Linked DNA regions of Homo sapiens: regions 1 and 3 are each linked to region 2. Evidence: promoter capture Hi-C in human tissues and cell types (Jung and others, 2019). All regions are on one chromosome and are shown on one strand. Each heading gives the region's core, a stretch centred on a gene start or on the middle of the fragment in contact. The rest is flanking DNA. Distances are from core to core; before and after follow the strand shown.

Region 1 (3,226 bases), core at 263-2,762, 290 kb after region 2:
AAGAGACAGTTTGCTATAATTTCTGTTCTTTTACATTTGCTGAGGAGTGCTTTACTTCCAACTATGTGGTCAATTTTGGAATAAGTGCAATGTGTTGCTGAGAAGAATGTATATTCTGTTGATTTGGGGTGGAGAGTTCTGTAGATGTCTATTAGGTCCACTTGGTGCAGAGCTGAGTTCAATTCCTGGATATCCTTGTTAACTTTCTGTCTCATTGATCAGTCTAATGTTGACAGTGGGGTGTTAAAGTCTCCCATTATTATTGGGTGGGAATCCAAGTCTCTTTGTAGGTCTCTAAGGACTTGCTTTATGAATCTGGCTGCTCCTGTATTGGGTGCATATATATTTAGGATAGTTAGCTCTTCTTGTTGAATTGATCCCTTTACCATTATGTAATGGCCTTCTTTGTCTCTTTTGATCTTTGTTGGTTTAAAGTCTGTTTTATCAGAGACTAGGATTGCAACCCCTGCCTTTTTTTGTTTTCCATTTGCTTGGTAGATCTTCCTCCATTCCTTTATTTTGAGCCTATGTGTGTCTCTGCACGTGACATGGGTCTCCTGAATACAGTCTGTGTCTTTTAATTTGAGCATTTAGTCCATTTACATTTAAGGTTAATATTGTGTGAATTTGATCCTGTCATTATGTTCTTAGCTGGTTATTTTGCTCATTAGTTGATGCAGTTTCTTCCTAGCATCTATGGTCTTTACGATTTGGCATGTTTTTGTAGTGGCTGGTACTGGTTGTTCCTTTCCATGTTTAGTGCTTCCTTCAGGAGCTCTTGTAGGGCAGGACTAGTGGTGACAAAATCTCTCAGCATTTGCTTGTCTGTAAAGGATTTTATTTCTCCTTCACTTGTGAAGCTTGGTTTGTCTGGATATGAAATTCTGGGTTGAAAATTCCTTTCTTTAAGAATGTTGAATATTGGCCCCCACTCTCTTCTGGCTTGTAGAGTTGCTGCTGAGAGATCTGCTGTTAGTCTGATGGGCTTCCCTTTGTGGGTAACCTGACGTTTCTCTCTGGCTGCCCTTAATATTTTTTCCTTCATTTCAATTTGGTGAATCTGACAATTATGTGTCTTGGAGTTGCTCTTCTTGAGGAGTATCTCTGTGGCATTCTCTGTATTTCCTGAATTTGAATGTTGGCCTGCCTTGCTAGGTTGGGGAAGTTCTCCTGGATAGTATCCTGCAGAGTGTTTTCCAACTTGGTTCCATTCTCCCTGTCACTTTCACGTACACCAATCAGACGTAGATTTTGTCTTTTCACATAGTCCCATATTTCTTGGAGGCTTTGTTCATTTCTTTTTACTCTTTTTTCTCTAAACTTCTCTTCTTGCTTCACTTCATGATCTTCAATCACTGATACCCTTTCTTCCACTTGATCAAATTGGCTACTGAAGCTAGTGCATTTGTCACGTAGTTCTCGTGCTATGGTTTTCAGTTCCATCAGGTCATTTAAGGACTTCTCTACACTGGTTATTCTAGTTAGCCATTCATCTAATCTTTTTTCAAGGTTTTTAGCTTCTTTACAATGGGTTCACACTTCCTCCTTTAGCTCAGAGAAGTTTGATCATCTGAAACCTTCTTCTCTCAACTCGTCAAAGTCATTCTCCATCCAGCTTTGCTCTGTTGCTGGCAAGGAGCTGCATTCCTTTGGAGGGGGAGAGGCCCTCCAATTTTTAGAATTTTCAGCTTTTCTACTCTGTTTTTTCCCCATCTTTGTGGTTTTATCTACCTTTGGTCTTTGATGATGGTGATGTACAGATGGGGTTTTGGTGTGGACGTCCTTTCTGTTTGTTAGTTTTCCTTCTAACGTGAGGATCCTCAGCTGCAGGTCTGTTGGACTTTGCTGGAGGTCCATTCCATACTCTGTTTTCCTGGGTATCTGCAGCGGAGGCTGCAGAACAGTGAATATTGCTGAACAGCAAATGTTGCTGCTGCTTGTTCCTCTGGAAGCTTCATCTCAGAGGGGTACCCGGCCATGTGAGGTGTCAGTCTGCCCCTACTGGTGGATGCCTCCCAGTTAGGCTACTCGGGGGTCAGGGACCCACTTGAGGAGGCAGTCTGTCCATTCTCGGATCTGAAACTCCTTGCTGGGAGAACCACTATCCTCTTCAAAGCTGTCAGACAGGGACATTTAAGTCTGCAGAGGTTTCTGCTGCCTTTTGTTTTGCTATGCCCTGCCCCCCAAGGTGGAGTCTACAGAGGCAGGCAGGCCTCCTTGAGCTGGGGTGGGCTCCACCCAGATCAAGCTTCCTGGCTGCTTTGTTTACCTACTCAAGCCTCAGCAATGGCAGGCACCCCTCCCCCAGCCTCACTGCAGCCTTGCAGTTTGATCTCAGACTGCTGTGCTAGCAATGAGCAAGGCTCCGTGGGCGTGGGACCCTCTGAGCCAGGTGCGGGATGTAATCTCCTGGGGTGCCATTTGCTGAGACCATTGGAGAAGTGCAGTATTAGGGTGGGAGTGACCCAATTTTCCAGGTGCCATCTGTCACATCTTCCCTTGGCTAGGAACGGGAATTCCCTGACCCCTTGCACTTCCTGGGTGAGGCAATGCCTCGCCCTTCTTTGGCTCATGCTCGATAGGCTGCACCCACTGTCCTGCACCCAGTGTCCTACAAGCCCCAGTGAGATGAACCCGATACCTCAGTTGGAAATGCAGAAATCACCTGTCTTCTGCATCGCTCATGCTGGGAGCTGCAGACTGGAGCTGTTCCTATTTGGCCATCTTGGAACCGCCCCCCTAAATTGTTTCTTTTTAAAAAATTTTTGAGACAGCATCTCATTATGTTGCCCAGGCAGGTCTTGCGCTCCTGTCTGCAAGTGGTCCTCCCACCTCGGCCTCCCAAAGTTCTAGGATTACAGGCATGAGCCACCATACCTGACTCATTTATGATTTGTGGTGTTATATACTACATTCTGATAGATATCTTTGTGTGTGGATCTTTATTACAAATTCTTTCCTAAGCATAAATCCCTAGAATTATGCAGAAAAAAGTACTTTATTGGTTTCAGAATTACTTTAATTATGTAGTAATAGACATTTTAATGTGTTTATCAGTCATTTATAATCTTCTTTTGTGAAATGCCTGTTAGCTTCTTCTATCATTTTCTATTTGTGTGCAATTTGTATTTACTGATTTGGAAGTATTTTTATATACCAGTGGCATATAGAAATGCAGTTTTTGCTTTGATATATATTTTAGATAATTTCTACTTTATTTGTCTTT
Region 2 (3,252 bases), core at 441-2,940:
CTTTTGTTTCACATAGTGCAAGGTTACTGAAGCTTTGGCATATTGATCACAGTGTATTAGGATGTTGAAGAGGAGGGTCCTGGGTAAATGGAGTGGTAGGGATGGATGGAACTGTCACAGTGGGGCTGGAGAGGGGGTGGATGGAGGACTGTATGCTGTGAGGCTCTCTGAGATAGGCCTGGGGGTGTTGATCTTGGCTAGTGTTCTGTTCCCAGTTCTTGTTAGTGTAGATGTTTAGGTTTGCATCCTTTCCTAAGTGGGCCTCAGGGGCATCAGACTCAGGCTTGGTGTTCAGGGACAGCTTCGTAATGTGCCCCTGAGGAGTGCCCCATGTTTGGAGGTTTCTCAGAAAGTGCATGCTCTCACCTGAGCCAATCCCACCCCAACCCTCCCAAGTGGGGTCCAAACATGGGACCCTTCTAGAGTATGCCCCCTTCAGCCCTGACAGTGCAGAGTCTGTTTGCAGCAACGCAAGCCTCAGCGCCCAGCACGGAAGCCTGGGGCAGCTGTGTGGGCAGGATATGCTGGGGGCCAGCCCCCTCTACCTTATTTAGGCAAATGTGAGTATTTCTGAGTCCTCCCGCTGAATCCCTTCCAGCTTACTGACTCCTCTGTAGAGTGCAGATGGTGGAGGACAGGAAGTAGTTTCTTCATTTCCAGGAATCCTGGGCAACCGAAATTCCCATGTAGAGAAGCATCTTCCCTTTGTCTTCACACTTTGTAGCCAACCAGATATGCTGTCCAAGGGGAGAATAGTTGATTAAGGCAGAAGCATGGGCCTGATGAGATGTATTCCAGAGCCAGAAGGGACAGTATTCTTCCCTCTAGGGTGGGATGATCAATATCTCAGTAGGGACAAGGAAGATAAGGTTTGTTCTTTTCCAGTATTGCAGAATAGGAGGGGTTCTAGAAAATAAAGCAATATGGTGTTTTATGATTTCACACATCATATGAATTATCATACATTTGTTCTTCACGATCCTTGGCAATGATCGATTATCATATGAGTTATCTTATTTTCCGTTTTGTGCTTCTCAACCTCATGAGGAAGAGGAGGAAAAGAGCATTACCGCTGTTTGTCACATGAGGATTCATTTGCAGATAGTATGAAAATGGAGGCAATTTTTCCAGTCTCAAGAATGGTAAAAGGCACAGGTGGGACTTGAACCCAGACTCTTGGCTTCAAGTCCAGAGTTTTCTCATGCACCAGCTACCCCTCAACAGGATTTGACTATCCTGCAGTAACCCTAGAGGAAGTTTAGTCCTTGGGACGCTTGGCCTGCCAGTCTCTGAAAAAAATATGATGGGGATGGTGGTGGTGGTAGTGCACGTTGGGTTGAGGGGACAGAGGAAGAAGCAGGTTGATGGCTGTTGTCCATCAGGTAACACAGTGTTTCTTTTCCCATTTTCTCTGGAATCAAGAAGCACCCAGAAGACTGGGCTGAGCAGAAGACTGGAGAGGGTGCAGGAAAGATGGTAGCAGGAGAGGAGAATAAAGCACCATCCAGGAGCTTAGTGGAGAGTGCCCCTTTTCTCTCCCCAACTGGATCAGATTGTGTAGACAGTGTGGGAGGTGCAGCTGGTCAATGCTTAACCGAAGGTGATTTCCTCACACACTCAGGATTAGGGCAAGAGGATTTGTAGACCTCTCTATGCTGGAATGGATGTCATACCTTGTAACTTCCTCAGCAGTGTAAAAATCCAACATGTACCTTCCAGCTGTCTACAACACAAGTGCATGCTCGTCGGACAAGAGGTCACAGCTAAGGCAACAATCCACATGAGTTGGGAAGGGCTCATTTCACCTGTCAAACACTGCTGCTCTCATGTGGAATGCACTGTGGCTTTTTGGTCAAGATAATTACCGTGGAAGATCCTAGGTGGCAGCAAATCCCAGGTGAACAGACTGAGCCGTGGAGGTGGCATAAGGCAACCCTAGCCGAGGTGAGTGCAGACCAATCGTTTGGCATTTGGGGGCTGGCTGGGAGCAGCTGTTCCTGTTATAATCTCAGGTGTGTATCTTTGCCTTCATTAAGCTTCTTAATATTTCTGATGTGAGGAAATGATTTTCCAGTGGGTGCAGTTGCACCTTATGCAAAGATGTATTTTGAGAGTTAAATGAATTAAGTCTTGATCCCTCATCCTACCATTTCCAGATTTGGTGACCAAGTCCAAATTCATCCTCCATACTATTCTTCTAGATTTTACAGACTGTGCATATATCTACATTTAGTAACTGCTGTCTCTCTCTCTCTCTCTCTCTCTCTCTCTCTCTCTGTGTGTGTGTGTGTGTGTGTGTGTGTGTGTGTGTGTGTGTGTGTGTGTGTTTCTGCCATGCCAGGGGTCAGGGCTTCTTCTTGGGGCTGTGGCCTTTTCTCCTGCTACATTGGTTCTTTAAGATCCTTGGCAATGATCCATGCTATAACATAGATGAACCTTTACAAATATTATAGTAAGTGGCCTGCACCTGTAATCTCAGCACTTTGGGATGCTAAGACAGGAAGATCGCTTGAGCCCAGGAGTTCGAGACCAGCCTGGGCAATATGGCAAAACCCCTATCACTACAAAAAATACAAAAATTGGCCGGGCATGGTGGTGTGTGCCTGTAGTCCCAGTTACTTGGGAGTCTGAGGTGGGAGGATCACTTGAGCCTGGGAGGTCGAGGATGTAGTGAGTTATGATTGCACCACTGCACTCCAGCCTGGGTGACAGAGTGAGACCCTGTCTCAAAAAATAAAAAAAGTAAAATTATTTTCTAATTAAAAAAAAAATTAGGCTAGGCACGGTGGCTCACGCCTGTAATCCCAGCACTTTGGGAGGCCGAGGTGGATGGATCACTTGAAGTCAGGAGTTCGAGACCAGCCTGGCCAACATGGGGAAACCCTGTCTCTACTAAAAATACAAAAATCTGCTGGGCGTGGTGGCAGACGCCTGTAATCCCAGCTACTTGGGAGGCTGAGGCTGGAGAATCGCTTGAACCGGGGAGGCGGAGGTTGCAGTGACCAGAGATTGCACCATTGCACTCCAGCCTGGGTGACAAGAGTAAAACTCCATCTCAAAAAAAAAAAAAAATTATCCAGGTGTGATGGTGTGCACCTGTAGTCCTAGCTACTTGGGAGGCTGAGGCAGGAGGATCACTTGAGCCCAGGAGTTTGGGGCTGCAGTGAGCTATCTTCATGCCACTGCACTACAGCCTCACTGACAGAGCAGGACCCTGTCTCTAAAAAAAATTTAAAAATAAAAATAAAGAAA
Region 3 (2,974 bases), core at 378-2,877, 330 kb after region 2:
TCATCTGGTTTCCACTTGTTTTATTGTTATCTATGATAGTTTCAGTTGTTTTATCACATTGGTGAATTATTTTGAGCATGTAGTCCTTTTCCACTTTTGGGATTCCTTTCTAAAGAGATGACATAGAGGTCATGCTTGTACCAAATAACCTCCTTTTTCTGGCAATAGCTTATTGGATCTGGGAAGATACTACGCTCATTAATTTGAACTAGAGGTACAGAAACCGCAGTTAGACAGTGTAACTAGAGCTTTAAAGCCCTGTGCTATTCAAACCAGACTCATCTCTTAGCAAACAGAGCTGGGTATGTTCAAACTGAAGTTATTGTGGAGTAGAATATGACAGGCTTACAGTGGAATCTGGTTTCCCAGGAGGAGAACAGATCATACATCCAGAGAAAAGTAGATTCGGAAAGCATAGCCAATTGGTGATTTTCTTCTTTCTGTGAGTCCTAGCTGTATTTTGCACAAATTGATTTTATGAGAATTTCTAATATCCTTTCAGAAAATCTTTTCCTTAATTACTATGAGCGCGTTACACAACAAATACTAAAAATTCAGGATCCCTTCTTCCAGACATTACAACTCATTTTTATAAAACTACTGTATAAATATATAGTTATCTCCATTAAATTCTATTTTGACAGTTTCAGTCTATCTTTCCAGTTTGTTCAGATGATTTTCAATCTTTAATTTATGCTGTAAATAAACATATTAGCTGGAGATCATTAGGACATGATCATCATATACCGATCTCAAAATTTGCTATTTGTACATTTAATGGGCATACCTTGTGTGAATTTACATAAGATCAATGTGAACAGGTCAAAGTGAAGGATAAAATCATGAGGTGTAACAATAGGGACATTTTTCTAAATTGTATATTTATACATGGCCGTTCTTTCAGCTGAGAATTCACCAAGTCTAGCATTACGCAGAATGACAAAGTGAATAGAGGATACAGTCTAGATCCAAATGAACTTAGGTTTGAGCCTTAGTCTTACTACTTACTAGATTCTACTGGATTTTTCTATTCAATACTCCAATCCTCAGTCTCCTTATTCATAAAATGGGTGTAACAATACCAAAATTATAGTTTTGTGGTGGGGATTACAGATAACATTGGGAGGTAACAAAGTATAGAATTTAAGAATGCAGGCTTTGGGCTTGTCAAACTGTATTTGTATGCCAGGTCTTCCCTTACTAACTCTGTGTTCTTGGGCAAGTTAGTTAATTCTTCTGTATTAAAGATAGTTTCCTTATCTATAATAAGGATTGCACCTACTTCATGAGGTTGTAGTGAAGATTAAGTGAATTAATGTATGCAAAGCATTTAGAACAACACTTCATGCACATTAAGCCCTTGATAAATAAATGTTAGTTCTTATTACATATGTAGTACAACAGGGCCTGTGATAAACACAACACTCAACAAATGATAATATATATATATTTTTCCCATTGATATAGTGAAAAACAAATTATTAAATATCTTGCAAATATTTGACACGTTTGAAGTCCACGGAAGTCCTTTGAATTTAGGACTTGTTTTAAAAATGTCTTTAGTGAGCTCATTCTGGCTTGGTACTGATCACTGCATTATTTTCTAAGAGCCCACACATTATCTGTTAATAATCTGCTCTAGAATTTTGCTGGGTATCGATCCACTATTTCTGTGTTCCTGAGTTGGGGATTTCCTTCATTCCTGATAGGTTTTCAAAAAATTCTCCCAATGCCTTGCCAACCATGCCTGCAAATTCTTTTTGTATGTTGGGGATTAGTTTAAAAGACCCAGAAGAATTGATCATTTTCAAAGCATCTAAGTTCTCTCTTAGTATCTTTTTATCTGTCATAATTTTTCATTTCTTCATTTCCAGTTTGAAAATTATTCTTTTCTTTTTTTTTTTTTTTTGAGATGGAGTTTTGCTCTTGTTGCCCAGGCTGGAGTACAATGGCATGATCTTGGCTCACTGCAACCTCCGCCTCCCAGGTTCAAGCAATTCTCCTGCCTCAGCCTCCAGAGTAGCTGGGATTACAGGTGCCCACTGCCACCCCCAGCTAATTTGTGTATTTTTAGTAGAGATGGGGTTTTTGCCATGTTGGCCAGGCTGGTCTCGAACTCCTGACCTCGGGTGATATGCCTGCCTCAGCCTCTCAAAGTGCTAGGATTACAGGGATGAGCCACTGCGCCCGGCCCAAAATTATTGTATTTGATGAAGAATAGAGGATGAAACCAGGGGTCGAAGTGCCCTACCTCTTCTTTATTCTCTACCAAAATTATTCTGTTTTCCTCGATATGTAAATTAACCTTCCTCCCCACCCCACCCTCTTCATTTCTCCAAACTGTTCTAAAACGCTTTTTATGTTCCACTTCACATTTTCTTTAAGCCTTAACTGCATTCATTAAAAGGTTTCCACTTTTTAACGATTTCCTTAAAGGCTCATGCCATCTTTGCTATTCTCCTTTGCCTTTGTGTCAGTCAACATTTGTATAATTTTTAGTTAAAAGCTGAGTTAGTATACCTTCCCGTACTGCTATAGGTTTTATCAGATGGCTCCATATTTCACATACTTATTGGAATTGTTTGCAATGGAATAGTAAGAATTTAATTTTTTTAGAGCTTCTTGTCCCATTAAGAATCACATTTAGATTTTTTGGTTGTCTTCTTTTTTATTGAGGTAAAAGTCACACAACATAAAATTCATACTTTTAATCACTTTAGAGTATATAATATGGTAGCTTTTAGTGTATTCACAATGTTGCGCAACCATCACCACTATCTAGTTCAGAATATTTTCCCCAAAAGAAACCCCACACATCTATTAAGTAGTCCCTCCCCACTCCCCACTTCTTTCAGCTTCTGGCAGCCACACTGCTTTCTGACTTTGGATTTGCCTATTCTTGGTATTTCATATAAATGAAATACACAATATGGCCATTTTGTGTCTGGATTTTTCCACTTAGCATAATGTTTTC

What was found. The method cuts DNA at HindIII sites, captures the fragments that hold promoters and counts their contacts. A contact is called where the count stands out against the background at its distance.
Region 1: a fragment that was not itself captured here is called in contact with the fragment with the promoter of OR6J1 in region 2 in 2 of the 25 tissues and cell types used here (adrenal gland and lymphoblastoid cells).
Region 3: a fragment that was not itself captured here is called in contact with the fragment with the promoter of OR6J1 in region 2 in 1 of the 25 tissues and cell types used here (lymphoblastoid cells).

What each region holds. Positions count from the first base shown.
Region 1 is chr14:22,348,435-22,351,660 of GRCh38, reverse strand. It overlaps TRA. Among named protein-coding and RNA genes, the nearest start is that of TRD-AS1, 130 kb to the left of the region's middle. The HindIII fragment of the contact is 3,160 bases long and covers 1-3,092 here.
Region 2 is chr14:22,642,790-22,646,041 of GRCh38, reverse strand. OR6J1 (olfactory receptor family 6 subfamily J member 1) reads left to right here and starts at 1,690. Exons shown (of 2, transcript NM_001348233.2): 1 at 1,690-1,944. The HindIII fragment of the contact is 14,040 bases long and covers 1,035-3,252 here.
Region 3 is chr14:22,316,468-22,319,441 of GRCh38, reverse strand. It overlaps TRA. Among named protein-coding and RNA genes, the nearest start is that of TRD-AS1, 170 kb to the left of the region's middle. The HindIII fragment of the contact is 9,832 bases long and covers 1-2,974 here.